Regions from separate parts of the Homo sapiens genome. Here region 2 is linked to region 1. The links are contacts of gene promoters, found by promoter capture Hi-C in blood cells and fetal thymus (Javierre and others, 2016). All regions are on one chromosome and are shown on one strand. The core of a region is centred on a gene start or on the middle of the fragment in contact, and the rest is flanking DNA. Distances in the headings are between cores, read along the strand shown. Region 1 holds the start of SH2D1B (SH2 domain containing 1B). Region 2 overlaps ATF6 (activating transcription factor 6).

What was found. Contacts are between HindIII fragments. The CHiCAGO score rates a contact against its expected background, and 5 or more counts as called.
Region 2: a contact is called between a fragment that was not itself captured here and the fragment with the promoter of SH2D1B in region 1, in 1 of 17 cell types (M0 macrophages). The highest score is 6.7, in M0 macrophages.

The regions. Positions count from the first base shown.
Region 1 is chr1:162,408,301-162,415,161 of GRCh38, reverse strand. SH2D1B (SH2 domain containing 1B) reads left to right here and starts at 3,026. Exons shown (of 4, transcript NM_053282.5): 1 at 3,026-3,279. The coding sequence starts at 3,146. The HindIII fragment of the contact is 13,514 bases long and covers 2,843-6,861 here.
Region 2 is chr1:161,835,266-161,842,126 of GRCh38, reverse strand. All of the region lies in intron 9 of ATF6 (activating transcription factor 6), which reads right to left. Among named protein-coding and RNA genes, the nearest start is that of ATF6, 72 kb to the right of the region's middle. The HindIII fragment of the contact is 904 bases long and covers 4,027-4,930 here.

The sequences.
Region 1 (6,861 bases), core at 1,777-4,276:
TGAAAAGCAAGTTGTAAATCCATGCTGATATTTCCAATTCAAATTTAGCATCAAAAATTTTATTTAACTTCTTTGCTTTTATATGTGTATCTCTTTTCTTATACTGAAAAAAAATCTTGATTCTAGAATTTTCCCAGGACTCATCTGTCTTTAACACTGAAAGTCGTAGATACTGGGAAACCCCTCAGACATAAGCAAACTGGTACAGTTGTTTACCTTACTTAGTTCTTAAAATGTTAATATCAGTATGATTTTTGTTTATCTTATAATATGAGTTAAATATATTTAAATTACACCAAATTATCACTAAATTTATTTGCTAGTTTATTTAATGTACAAGATATTTAATTAAAACTGTTCACTCAAATTCTACATTCTAAAGTCAGTTGAAATAATTTTCTTTATGATTATATTACCAAAGTAATGTTCAGTTAGATACATTATTTTAGTTTTTATTCCTCCTTTTAGGAATACCCTTTTACTTGTTTATTTTCAATGTGTAAAACAATTATGGCCGGGCGCTGTGGCTCACGCCTGTAATCCCAGCACTTTGGGAGGCCGAGGTGGGTGGATCACGAGGTCAGGAGATTGGGACCATCCTGACTAACATGGTGAAACCCCGTCTCTACTAAAAATACAAAAAATTAGCTGGGCGTGGTGGCAGGGGCCTGTAGTCCCAGCTATTCGGGAGGCTGAGGCAAGAGAATGGCATGAACCCAGGAGGCAGAGCTTGCAGTGAGCCGAGATCGCACCACTGCACTCCAGCCTGAGCGACAGAGTGAGACTCTGTCTCAAAACAAAACAAAACAAAACAAAAAAACAATTACATGATTCTACATTCAAAACTCCACAGCAGGCTGGGCGCAGTGGGTCACATCTGTAATCCCAGCACTTTGGGAGGCCGAGGCAGGCAGATCACTTGAAGTGAGGAGTTTGAGACCAGCCTGGGCCACATGGTGAAACCCTGTCTCTACTAAAAATACAAAAATTAGCTAGTCATGGTGGCACGTGCCTGTAGTCCCAGCTACTTGGGAGGCTGATGTGGGAGAATTGCTTGAACCAGGGAGGCAGAGGTTGCAGTAAGCCGAGATCACACCACTGCACTCCAGACTGGGTAACAGAGTGAGATTCTGTCTCAAAACAAAACAAAACAAAAAACCAACAACTCTACAGCAAGTTTTACTGAGAGAAGTCTCACCTCTATGCATGTTTCCGCTCTCCTCTTAGAGGCAGAAGTTTTTAGTTTTAATTAGTTTTAGTTTTGTTCTTCCAGTGGGTGTTTCGTTTGTTTTTTAAATATGAGCAAATATTATAAATGTATATATTTATTTATATCCCCCATACTCTATATACTATTGTGCATCTTGCTGCTTTCACCTAAAAATACATCCTGAAGATTATTGCATATCAGCATATAGAGATCTTCCTCAATCCCATTTTATTATTCTATAGTAATATTCCATTGTATACATGAATCACAGTTTATTCACCTGTCCCTCTATTCACAAGTCTTTGAGTTGTTTGTAATCTTTTTCTATTAAAAAATACTACCTTATTCACAAGTCATTTTCTAATTCTGCCTGTGTAGTTTTGTGACAGATTTCTAGAACTGAGATTGTTCTATCAGATGGTGAAGGCATACATAAATTTGCAAGATATTGCCAAACCATCTTTTACTATAGTTGTAACTATTTTTTATTCCAACTAATGATATACAAGATATTCTATTTTCTTTCACCATGACCAACCCAATAAGCTTTCAAACTTTTGATTTTCACCCATATGATAGGTGAGAGTTGTTATCTCAGCATGCAGGTAATTTGCATTTCTTTTATTGTGAGGGTTGGATTTTGAAACAGCAAAAAGGGCAAGGAAGCCCCTGTGATGACCAAGAGCCTGAGCATGCTTTCAGTTATTTCCTCTCTTATGTCAAAAAGCATCTTTACACCACGATTGTGAATTTATTCACAAGAAATACCAAATTTCTTCTTTCATTATTAACAACTCTGTCTTCAACTGCCATAGTTTCCAGAGAATTGAATAATGAATTGTCCAAAACCACAGAAGAAAAGTTGCTATTTGAGAGCATATCTGTCTGATAACGAGTTCCCTGATCAGTGAAACTGCACTATGCCAAATGCAGAGTGGGAATTCCAAGGAAGAACAAAGATCTGTTACAAGGAAGTTCCATAGAAGATACACCCAACTGTGAGTAAACAGCTGGTAAGCAAAGTAGCAAGGTGAAATAAACATCTAGGTTAAGAAGAAGTTAAGATCTCCAGGTACTACGGAGATGAAGAAAACAAAAAAAAGAAGAAGTTAAGAGAAGTAAAGATGAATCGTTAGCACATAGTTCTATTTTCATAGATAACATTTTTGAGATATATATAGTGATTTTCTGTAGATATATGAGTATACCCAGATATCCCTCCCACCTACACCAGCCCTTTCTCCAAAAGGAACAATGCTTGAGGGTGTTCAAATGGCCTTTTTTCACCAGTGGCTGGGAGCCTTAGCCATGGAATGGGCTGTCCTCATCCACAGTGTCCCACTGTTTTTTATTGCCATTAATGTCTTCCATTTTTAGTGTCATTTGATCCACGGAAATCCCACCCTTTCAATTTTCCCATTGTATCTGAGCATATCAATTCTCTCAGCATCCAAATGGTTTTTGAGCACCCAGTCTAAGCTAAGCATAGCCCAATCCTAGGCAACTTCAGCAGAAAATGGGTACCATTACAGCAAAAGCAGCGGTGTGCTTCCTGGAAAGGATACCAGTAGCCAAAGAAGTTGATGATAGTCCATGGTAATATACAAGGCTGCAACACAGTTCCAGGAAGCTTGACTTCAGCATTGCCTCCCTAGCCATGAGCATCACTGATTCCATTGTGTGTTTAAATGTGCTTTACCTACTTCTGTGAGTCACATGTGGGCCATTTAGAGGGTGAAAAGTGTTGGTCATTTTATCACCCCGCCCTCCTCATTTCCTGAATCTTGTGAAGCTGGCTGAGTCCCACAGACCGCTAGAGGAAGAGGTAGCTCCACAGGAGGTACAGCTGCTTACACATCTCTCCTCAGAGCTGTCCCTTGACTTGGGGGTGAATTTCAGGCCAACAGGGCTTCCTGGGATACAAGAGCGTTCTCCATGGATCTGCCTTACTACCATGGACGTCTGACCAAGCAAGACTGTGAGACCTTGCTGCTCAAGGAAGGGGTGGATGGCAACTTTCTTTTAAGAGACAGCGAGTCGATACCAGGAGTCCTGTGCCTCTGTGTCTCGTGAGTAGCCTCATCTTGCACACATCTGACATCGTATGTTGAATGTGGCAATGGCTGCCACACAGTACAGGAATTCATATCCCTCAGTATTTCACTCTGACTTTGGAGTCTCAATGAGTAGAATGAGAAGTAATGGACACTGCCAGGAGAGGAATGTATCTGTCCATGCTCCTCCATCTGCCTGCTCTCCCTGGTGTAAAGGCCCTGCAAGCAGACTCTGCAGCAGCAGGAGGGACATGGTGGTGGTGAAGGGAAGGGCTGCAGGAAGTACAGGGGTACAGAGGGATGGAAAGAAGGTACAAATGTCAGAGGTCCTGTCCTCCAGAGATCTGTTTATTTGGTATGGAAAAGGCTAGGGGTTCTTCAAGAAATTTCAATCTGAAACACTTATTCTGCAGCATCTGCTTGCAATACGTAAACTATAAATACAATCATATTTCACATTTTGTTAGATTTGTGAAGGACTTCAATATTCGTCATTTCCTTTCATCCTAGTAGTCTATCAAGGCAAGCATAAGCAGTCACCATTTCATAGGTAAAGAAACAGAGACCTGAATTTCTCAAATAATTTGTTTGTGTTAAAACTCATTTGGAATTTCCAGAGTCTAAGTTAAACATGAAATTCCAGGCTGGGCATGGTGGCTCATGCCTGTAATCCCAACACTTTGGGAGGCTGAGGCAGGTGAATCACTTGAGGTCAGGAGTTTGAGACCAGCCTGGCCAACACGGCAAAACCCCATCTCTACCAAAAATACAAAAATTAACCTGGTGTGGTGGCGTGTGCCTGTAATACTGGCTACTTGAGAGGCTGAGACAGGAGAATCACTTGAACCCAGGAGGCAGAGGCTGCAGTGAGCTGAGATTGCACCACTGCACTCCAGCCTGGGCAATAGAGTGAGACTCTGTCCAAAAAAAAGAAAAAAGAGTGGCTGGGCACAGTGGCTCACTCCTGTAATCCCAGCACTTTGGGAAGCGGAGGCAGGTGAATCACCTGAGGTCGGGAGTTCGAGACCAGCCTGACCAACACGAAGAAACCCCGTCTCTACTAAAAATACAAAATTAGCCAGGTGTGGTGGCGTATGCTTGTAATCCCAGCTATTTGGGAGGCTGAGGCAGGAGAATCACTTGAACCCGGGTGGTGGAGGTTGCAGTGAGCTGAGATTGTGCCATTGCACTCCAGCCTGGGCAACAAGAGCAAAACTCCATCTCAAAAAAAAAAAAAAAAAGAAAAAGAAAAACAAATTCCAGGCCACAGTATCAAAGAGACCTAGCTGAAGGAACTTGTTTATGCCCAGTTTAGAAAGCAATCCTGAACAGAAATCACTAGAAACCTCCTATCTTTATGTATGTTCCTCTTTGTAAAGTAGGGACCACTGAACCTTTTATTATACCTGTAACAGAAATTAAAATCCAAATGTCTCTTGTTAAAGAAAAAAATTACTCAATGTCACTTGTTAAATTATGGTTGGGAAGACTTTATTCAGGATCATCACAAAGGTACAGGGACCACTGCAATGAGCTCTTGCGGCACAGAAAAGAGACTGGACTCAACTCTGAATCCAGCATGGACAAGTGGGAATTTATGGCCAAGGAGCAGTGTGGCTGTCGGTAGACAGAAAATTACTCGGAGGAAACATCAGGGGTAAAGTGGATTCTGGCTAAACCAGCCTAACAGAATTGTAGCTGAAGACAGGCCCGGGTGATCAGATGTTGCCTGGGGGATGGTGGAGGATGAGGAATCTGATCAGAATCCAACAGTGATCAGATAGCTAGGGTGAGGGGTCCTTGCCAAACTGACTTAGTAGGGTTCTTTGCTAAAACTGGATTTTACAAGGAAGTACACAAATGGGCCTTGGAATAGGCTCAGAAGTCTGATTATAGACAAAAGTGATTGTCATTACTAATAGAATACACAGGGACATATTTCTTTCTTTAAATGGTACTGGAGATACAGGCTATTTCTCTCATATCTACATCCAACAGTACCATTTAAAGAAAAATATATATTGGCCAGGCGCGGTGGCTCATGCCTGTAATCCTAGCAATTTGGGAGGCTGAGGTGGGCTGATCACTGAGGTCAGGAGTTCAAGACCAGCCTGGCCAACATAATGAAACCCCCATCTACTAAAAATACAAAAATTAGCCAGGCATGGTGGGTGCAGTTGTATCCCAGCTACTTGGGAGGCTGAGGCATGAGAATCGCTTGAACCCAGGAGGCAGAGGTTGCAGTGAGCCGAGATCGCGCCATTATACTCCAGCCTGAGAGACAGAGAAAGACTCTCCATCTCAAATAAAATAAACAAAGAGTGGAAAAGATCTGCTTACATGTAAATGGGATGGAGGGCATTTTAGGAAGGGGAGGAGGTAGGAACAGGAGTCTAGAAGTGGGATATTTTAAAGGATTTACATACAAGGTTCCTAAAATGTAGTTTGGAAACCAGCTTTTGGAAAAGGAGGGTGGGATAAGATCATGGAGTTTTAAAAGAATGGTTCTATAGATAACAGGGAAACATGGATGGTTTCTGAGCAGGGAAGTGAAAAGACTGGTGAATTTAGGAACTTCAATTTGACGTGGAGAACACAATGAAGCTGGGAAATGATGGCAACAGAAACTGTTGTGTCTCTGGACGGGAGACGGTGAAGAGCTAGTTGTGCTGGGGCAAGCAGTGGGAAGGGAAAAAACAAGAAGGTGCAAGGACAGACCTTGGCCAGGATCTCAGGGTATATGGTCAATATGGGATTCTCTTCCTTCCTTTCTTTCTTTTTTTTTTTTTTAGACAGGGTCTCACTCCAGCTCCTAGGCTGGAGTGCAGTGGTGCGATCATGGCTCACTGCAACCTCAACCTTCTGGGTTCAAGAGATTCTCCTGTCTCAGGCCCCCTGAGTATCTGGGACTACAGGTGCGCACTACCATGCCTGGTTAATGTTTAAATTTTTTGTAGACATGGGGTCTCGCTATGTTGCCCAGGCTGATTTCGAGCTCCTGGGCTCCAGTGATCCACCCACCTCAGCCTCCCAAAGTGCTGGGATTACAGGCATGAGCCACTGCACCCAGCCTATATTGGGATTCTCTTTGAAAATTGATATTTATTCTCAACTGTTCTGTGGTGCATCAGCCCATCTTGCATATTCATCTAAAGCAAAGGTCACTAAGAGATGCTAAAAAATGGGCCAGGCGTGGTGGCTCACACCTGTATTCCCAGCACTCTGGGAGGCCGAGGCGGGCAGATCACTAGGTCAAGAGATTGAGACCATCCTGGCCAACATGGTGAAACTCTGTCTCTACTAAAAATACAAAACTAATTAGCTGGGTGTGGTGGCATGCGCCTGTAGTCCCAGCTACTCAGGAGGCTGAGGCAGGAGAATTGCTTGAACCCAGGAGGCGGAGGTTGCAGTGAGCCAAGATCGCACCACTGCACTCCAGCCGGGTTACAGAGCGAGACTTGATCTCAAAAAAAAAAAAAAAAAGAAGAGAAAAAAAGAGAAGCTAAAAAATGAAAATAAACCAAGTGGAGAGGCAAAAATAAATATTTGTTAAGCCCCTGCACATGATCAGGTCTCACCCACCTCCCTACACATGTC
Region 2 (6,861 bases), core at 3,229-5,728, 570 kb after region 1:
TGGAGGGACATGAAAAAGTACAAAGTGGCTATTTGTATGACTTATGGATAATTTATAAATTGAATTAATTCAGAACTATTGATACTTTAAGGTTTGTAAAGAATTCTTCTACTAATCATTGTTCTTTTAATGATTTTACTAACACTATGTAAACTGGCATTTCACCTCACAATTCATGGCTGTTAACAGGCAAATGCTTTGAGCTTAACTATCCTTGTAGTCTATCCCATCTGTATCCAGGCTGCTCTATAATCACTTGGCAGCTGTACTTACTGGAAATCAGTTTTAATGTTGATTGGTTTGGCTCATAAGTGGTCACTATTTTTCCAAGTGCCCACTTTGGTAATGATTATCACATTGTAATGACAATATACCCTTAACCATAGCTATTTCAGTAACTTTTAGCCTTTTTTGAGTTAAGGAGCTCAGACGCATTCAATGAGCTTCACAAAAATTATCTTATTTACATTACACAGAGTCAATAAAGTATTTTCAACAAGGGAGTCATGATGAAACAAAATTTAGGATCCAAATAGTCTGTGGGTCTCAATTTTATTATCTATCCATTGGCTAGAATATATTTTGAAGAGGTAATATATTAATAAATTCTGCTAAGAATCTTTTAACGTTTTTCACTTGTTTGTTTTTGGTTGTTATTATTTTTTGGCCTACATTCCCTGTAGTTTTTTTGTCTTAAAATGGAATTTCTCTTAAGCTAAATTACAGACAAGTTGATTGTCCAATTCAGCTAAAAAAACATTTAAATACTTGAACTCTATGAAATGACCCACAGAAACTAATTTTAACCATCTGAATAACTACAGGTTTGTATTTCCCTTATTTTTATTAACATCTGAAAGACAGGTAAGAACTTCATTTCGCTGCCAGAATTCAAGATTGTTTTAGTACGACTGTGACATCACAAATATTGAAAGGAATTTGACAGATCTTGTAATGGTCAAATGTATAAAAGAGTATGAGAAAATTATTATTTATATGAACTTTTAGATTCTTGCCATGAGTGCTTTTGCATCATTCAAATGTCCCCTTTTGTTAATTTTAGAAAAATTAGATTTCCAAGAACTCAAAGAAATGACTCAATCATAGTAAGGATTAGTATAATGAATGCGCATTTGGTGACTGTTTCTAGTTCATAATATTAATAAAGCAATCTAACCAAACTTTGTATAATTGCTTAAATCAGGTTCTACTCAGTACGTTTAAAACAAGCTACAAATATTAAGAAAAAAGAAGAAGTCTCTAGCTGTCTCTATGATCAGAAACATGCTAGTCCAAAGAGTCACAGTAGTTTTAGGCCACAAAATAATCATTACACCAATAAACCTTGCTCACATTATGGGCCATTGGTCCTGAAAAGCATGGATTAATAAAACACAAATGATTTCAATTTCCCCGAAAGTCTGGAAAAAGTATTATAAGAATTGTTACCTTACTTTTTCATTTATTAAATTCTAAAAGCCAACAACTGTTTTAGATTATTTATGAAGCCACTTAATCCTTACAGTGTGGTTTCAGATACTCAGTCTTCATACCAAGTAGCTGAACAAAAAATGGCATATCTCCAAGTCTATTCTACTCCTTGCAAACCTGCTTTCTTATGGTACAAGTAGGTCAATTTTGAATTCAAGCCATCTTACCAGGTAAGAACCATACTGCTTCTTATCCTTAAAAGAAACTGCTTCTTATCCTCAAAAGCTGCTGCTGCTCTGTGGCTTGGAGAGCCACACACAAAAAGCTGAAATTACGTTAAGATGAAAAGAGCAGGGAGATCTTCAGGTTTTAATGTGAAATAGTGGAATGAGCACAAAATTTGGAGACAGGAGATCTGGGTTCAAGATGTTACTCTGAGACTGCTCACTTGAGTATGTCTGGGATACTTGGTCAACTTCTCTAAGCCTCCAATTCCTCACATGTAAAACATGAAAAATAACAAATATTTCACAAGGTTTTCCTGAGATTCAAATGAGACAACAGATGGAACATGGTTTATAAAGCCCAAAGATGACACAGAGCAGGACACTTGTCTTCCTGCCTACCAGGTTCAGGCTAGTGGCAACATAGTAACTAAAGTGATCCTTTTAAAATCTAGGTCAGATTATTATGTCACCTCTGCTCAAAACCTTCTGATGGCTTCCCATTTCTATCATGGTAAAAGCCCAAATCTTTAAAACGACAGAAGTCTTACCTCAATTGACCTCTCCCTGTATCTCACCTCTCTGACATCATCTCCTACTACTCTCTCTTTAGCAAAGCCACCTTGTTTTTCCTTGAACATGCAAGACACATTTCCACCCCAGGATCCCTGCAATGGCTGTTTCCTCTGCCAAGAATGCTGTTCTTCCTCAGATATCCATATGGCTAACCCTCTCCTCTCCTTTAAGCCTTGGCTCAAACACCTGCCTTACAGTGATCACCATTTAAAACTACAGTCCTGGCAGGGAACAGTGGCTCACACCTGTAATCCCGGAATTTTGTGAAGCCAAGGTGGGCAGACTGCTTCAGCCCAGCAGTTTGAGACCAGCCTGGGCAACACAGTGAAACCTCATCTCTACGATAATAATAATCATAATACAATAATTAGCTGGGTGTGGTGGAGTGTGCCTGTGGTCCCAGCTCCTCAGGAGGCTGAGGTGGAACAATCGCTTGAGCTCAGGAGGTCAAGGCTGAGTGAGCCGTGATTGCATTGCTGTACTTCAGCCTGGGGAACAGGGCAAGACCTTGCCTCAAAAAAAATTAAAAATAAGTAAATAAAACTACAGTCCCAACAACTACCCTTCAACATGTAAAACCATTTACCCTACTATACTTTATCCCTTTGTCCAAAGAATTTATAATTTTCTCATTTTACTTATGTTTATTGTCTCTCTTCTTGTTAGAATGTAAGCTAAGGGGTGTTCTAGTTCCTGGTTCATAAGAGGTATTCCTTTTTCAAAAAATAAACAAATAAATAAACTTCATGCACCATCTGCCTCTTGTCAAGATCTACATTTTAGGGAAACTAACCCACAACTCAAGAATGGCAGGTGGTGAAGTCACTATTACACCATTTCCAGATCCAGGAACAGAACATTATGTTAACTTTCAATGCAACTGAGACTAAAAGGAGGAAAAAATGGGGAGTTTTCAAGGTAGTTTCCAAATTTTAAAAAGGTTTTCTTTTCTCTGTTTATTGAATGGTTCAGAGATGATTTTTGCAGCCTAGTAGTAACTGGGGGTAATTTATTAGAAACATAAATGTGGTTAAATGAAGAAATAGACCTTCAAGTCAAGATAAAAGAACCCTCTAAATAGCAGTTCTCAGAGCCAGGGATTACCGTGCTCTGGGAAGAAACCTGCACTTTACAGTGGCTATTTGCCAAATGGGCCAACATGAGCAAGAAAACAACCTGAGATTCTTTCATTCATTCAATAAGCAATTATAAAGCAAGCACTATTCTAATAGATGATGCTTATTCTTGGAACCCAGACACTAAACTGTGAGGAAACCCATGCAGCTGTGGAGAGGTCCAAATGAAGAAAAACCAAGAACCCTGGCCCACATCCCAGGCTCAGGTCCCAGCTGAAAGCCGTCACCAACTTACTGGCCATGTGAATGAGCCAATCTGAAAGTGGGTCCTCCAACCTAAGCCACCCCAGCTAACACTCCACGGAGGCAAAGAAGAACTGTCTGTCCTGAACTCTGCCCAATTTGCAGATTTCTTTACCAAAATAATAACTGCTGTTGTCTTAAGCGTTTAGGTTTTGGGGTGGTTTGTTCCACAGTATTAGATAACTGATACTCTATAGTAATTAGATTGCTGACATCACTGAGTCAGTGTTTAATATAAAAGGTGTGTGTGTGAACAACTCTTTGTATATTTCTCACTACAGAAAAGTATCCTCTGATTATTCTAAATGTCAAAAAACATGGCTGTAAATTTGAGTACAATCTCTCTTTTCTGTTATACTTACATCAATCCAGTCAATTCATAAGCTACTTTCCCCTATCACAGCCAATCCTAAGCTTTAGGGAAACGGGCAGAGTTACTAAAGTCCTAACTCCTCTAACTGTAAATGCCAACTCCTTTTTCTCTGCCTGAGTGGCTGTTGCTCTGTCAGTGATTAAGCCAAGGCTCCAGAGGCAGATTGTGATTCTGATCTCTGCCACATATTAGCTGTGTCTTCGGTTTCCTCATCTGTAAATCAGGAATAATAATACCTGCCTCATGGCACTAGGAGGAACAAATGAATTAATCCATATATCAAATAGAATACTTGGACTAGTATTTAGTGCATAAAACGTAATTAGTATTTGATAAATAATGGCTTAATACAACACGCAGAAAAAACTAGCTACCTTTACTACCCAAGCACACATGGTATCAACCCATAGCCAACCTAGCTTATTCCACAACTAAGAATCTTCACCTGTTTTCATCCTCTTTTCTTCCAACTGCCTTATTTCCATTTATCTCTCATTGTTAATTTACCAAAAAAAAAAAAATGGGAGAAAGGAAAAATAAAAGCAAGTAATTGAGAAATCTGCTTTATTGGGAATTCTGGGAAAGGGCTGAGACAGAAAATAATATAAGGTACATAGATCGTCTGTACATTCCGTACTTCTGGCTCCTCAGAGGCCATGGATTGTGATAAACTGACAGTGTGCATAACATACTAAGGCCAATTTATGTTCAGAACACACAGACACCAAAAAGTCCAAAGGCACGGCACACACCTGCAGTTCATACTGACATTAGTCATAAATCAATTAAGAACCATTTGTAGAATGACACTTAAAATTATGTTTCAAATGCTCACTAATGTGACAAAACAGCTCAATCTGGAGACAAAAAAGACATGAATGGCAAACTGCCTAGAAGTCTAAGCAATATATAATAATTACATATGTACTTCTGTACATTCAAAAGCTTCAAAAGTATCCTATACTACCCTTAATATTAGCCTAGACCTTCACTTGTTACAAAATTAAGATGTTTATTTCCTTTATTATTTATGTTCTGCAGCACTTACACAGCATGATTCCACCCAGCTATATTAAGTACTGAAAATGGTGGTTGAAAATGCTATTTCACACAAACTATCCACTAGTCCTTGTTTTATGTTAACTAAGATGTATGGTCTGAAGAACATATCGAAGTACTCAACTTAAACTCTGATAGTAGTTTTCTCACCTGGCCTAGTTTCTCACCGACCCCTTCTCACTAGGTAGAAAGCAGAAGAGATAAATTTCCTTTTATCTCTTAAGTTGGCAAGGGATGTAGGTTTCTGGTTTCAGCTGCCTTTCCCTTCATTACAACAATGAAGTGTGGGGAAAAAGTAGCCAAGTGATACAAGGTAAAGCCACTAGGATGCTCCTTATAAGCCTCCCTATGTACAACTCACATGAAAGCCAAAACTAGAGAAAAGCATCAACAGAATTTTCCATGCCCTCAAAACCCAGCTCTGCACTTGATAGGTTCTAAGACATCTTTTTCAACAAAGGATGAAATCTACAGAGAAAAGAGAACCAATTACTTTGTGTAGACACATTTTTGACAAACATGAATACGTTAAGACTATTTGAGGAAAGGACTGCCTTTGGCTCTGTTACCCTCCTGCAATTCCAGATTCAGTAACACCTGGTACTCAGATACATTGTATTTCTTCAGTTCATGTGTCACTTTGATAAATGTGGAAAGTACTTTTAGCCAAAAACTCAAATTAGATTTCATTTAAAAATCTGGCTGAACAAAACCGTGTATACTTGGTGGTTTGAATTCTGACGTTTAAGTTACACGGTAACTTTTAACCTACAGCCAATAGTGATATCATATGGCGAAATGTGCTCAACAACAACAACAAAAAATTGGAACCAGATTTGGAGACAAGCTCATCTCAGGATAAGAAGCTAGAATTCTTCCTATAAAATAATGAAAAGCTGACAAACTCAGAGAATGCTGGAATAGAAACATTTTACTTCTAACCAGTTCCACATGACTCAAACTCAATGCCATATGCTCCGTGGTTACCTTTTCCTTAAAGCACAGTCTCATAAGAAAACCACAGAGTAACTGGCCCACTAGTAGCATGATTTACCCTTCCTCATCCAAGTCTGATGTCTCAAACTATAAAGATTCCAGACCTAGTGAGGGCGCAGCATTAACCCAGAACAAAAACAGGGTAAAAGCACTGTCAATTCCAAACATTTGTTAATTTTTTTAAGACCTAACTAAAACATATTTAAAACCTCCTTAGTATGTTCATTTATGATTTGCAGCAAAGGAGGATGACTATAGTGACCTTTAAAATAGAAAGGGGAAAACATAACAAAGGAATCTATAATCTGCAATCCTATGTGCCAGGAAGAAGTTCCCTTCACAGATTATGCTGTGGCCCCTACTCTGTCCAAAACAGAGGTCCATAAATGTCCTCAAGTATATGAGACAAACCTATCTATACAGAGGTGTCTGTCTAGAGACATTTTAATAAAAACTTCCCTTACGTACATTATCTTATAATCTAATGAATAAGTGCTTTTACAATTTCCATAGTGGCTAATGTATAGGAAGAAAGAAATACAAAACTATACAAAACAATGTATAGGAAGAAAGAAATACAAAACTACACACAACAGTTTTCAACCCTAGACATACTTCAGAATCTCCTGGGAAAAATGTTTGGTTTACAAACAAATGCCTTTGACCTACCCTATCAGACTTCATAGGTCTTGGGTAGGGCTCAGTTAGCAATATTTTTAAGATTCCAGAGTAAGGCTGGGCATGCTGGCTGACATCTGCAATCCCAACACTTAAGGAGGCTGAGGCAGGAGCATCACTTGAGCCCAGAAATTCGAGACCAGCC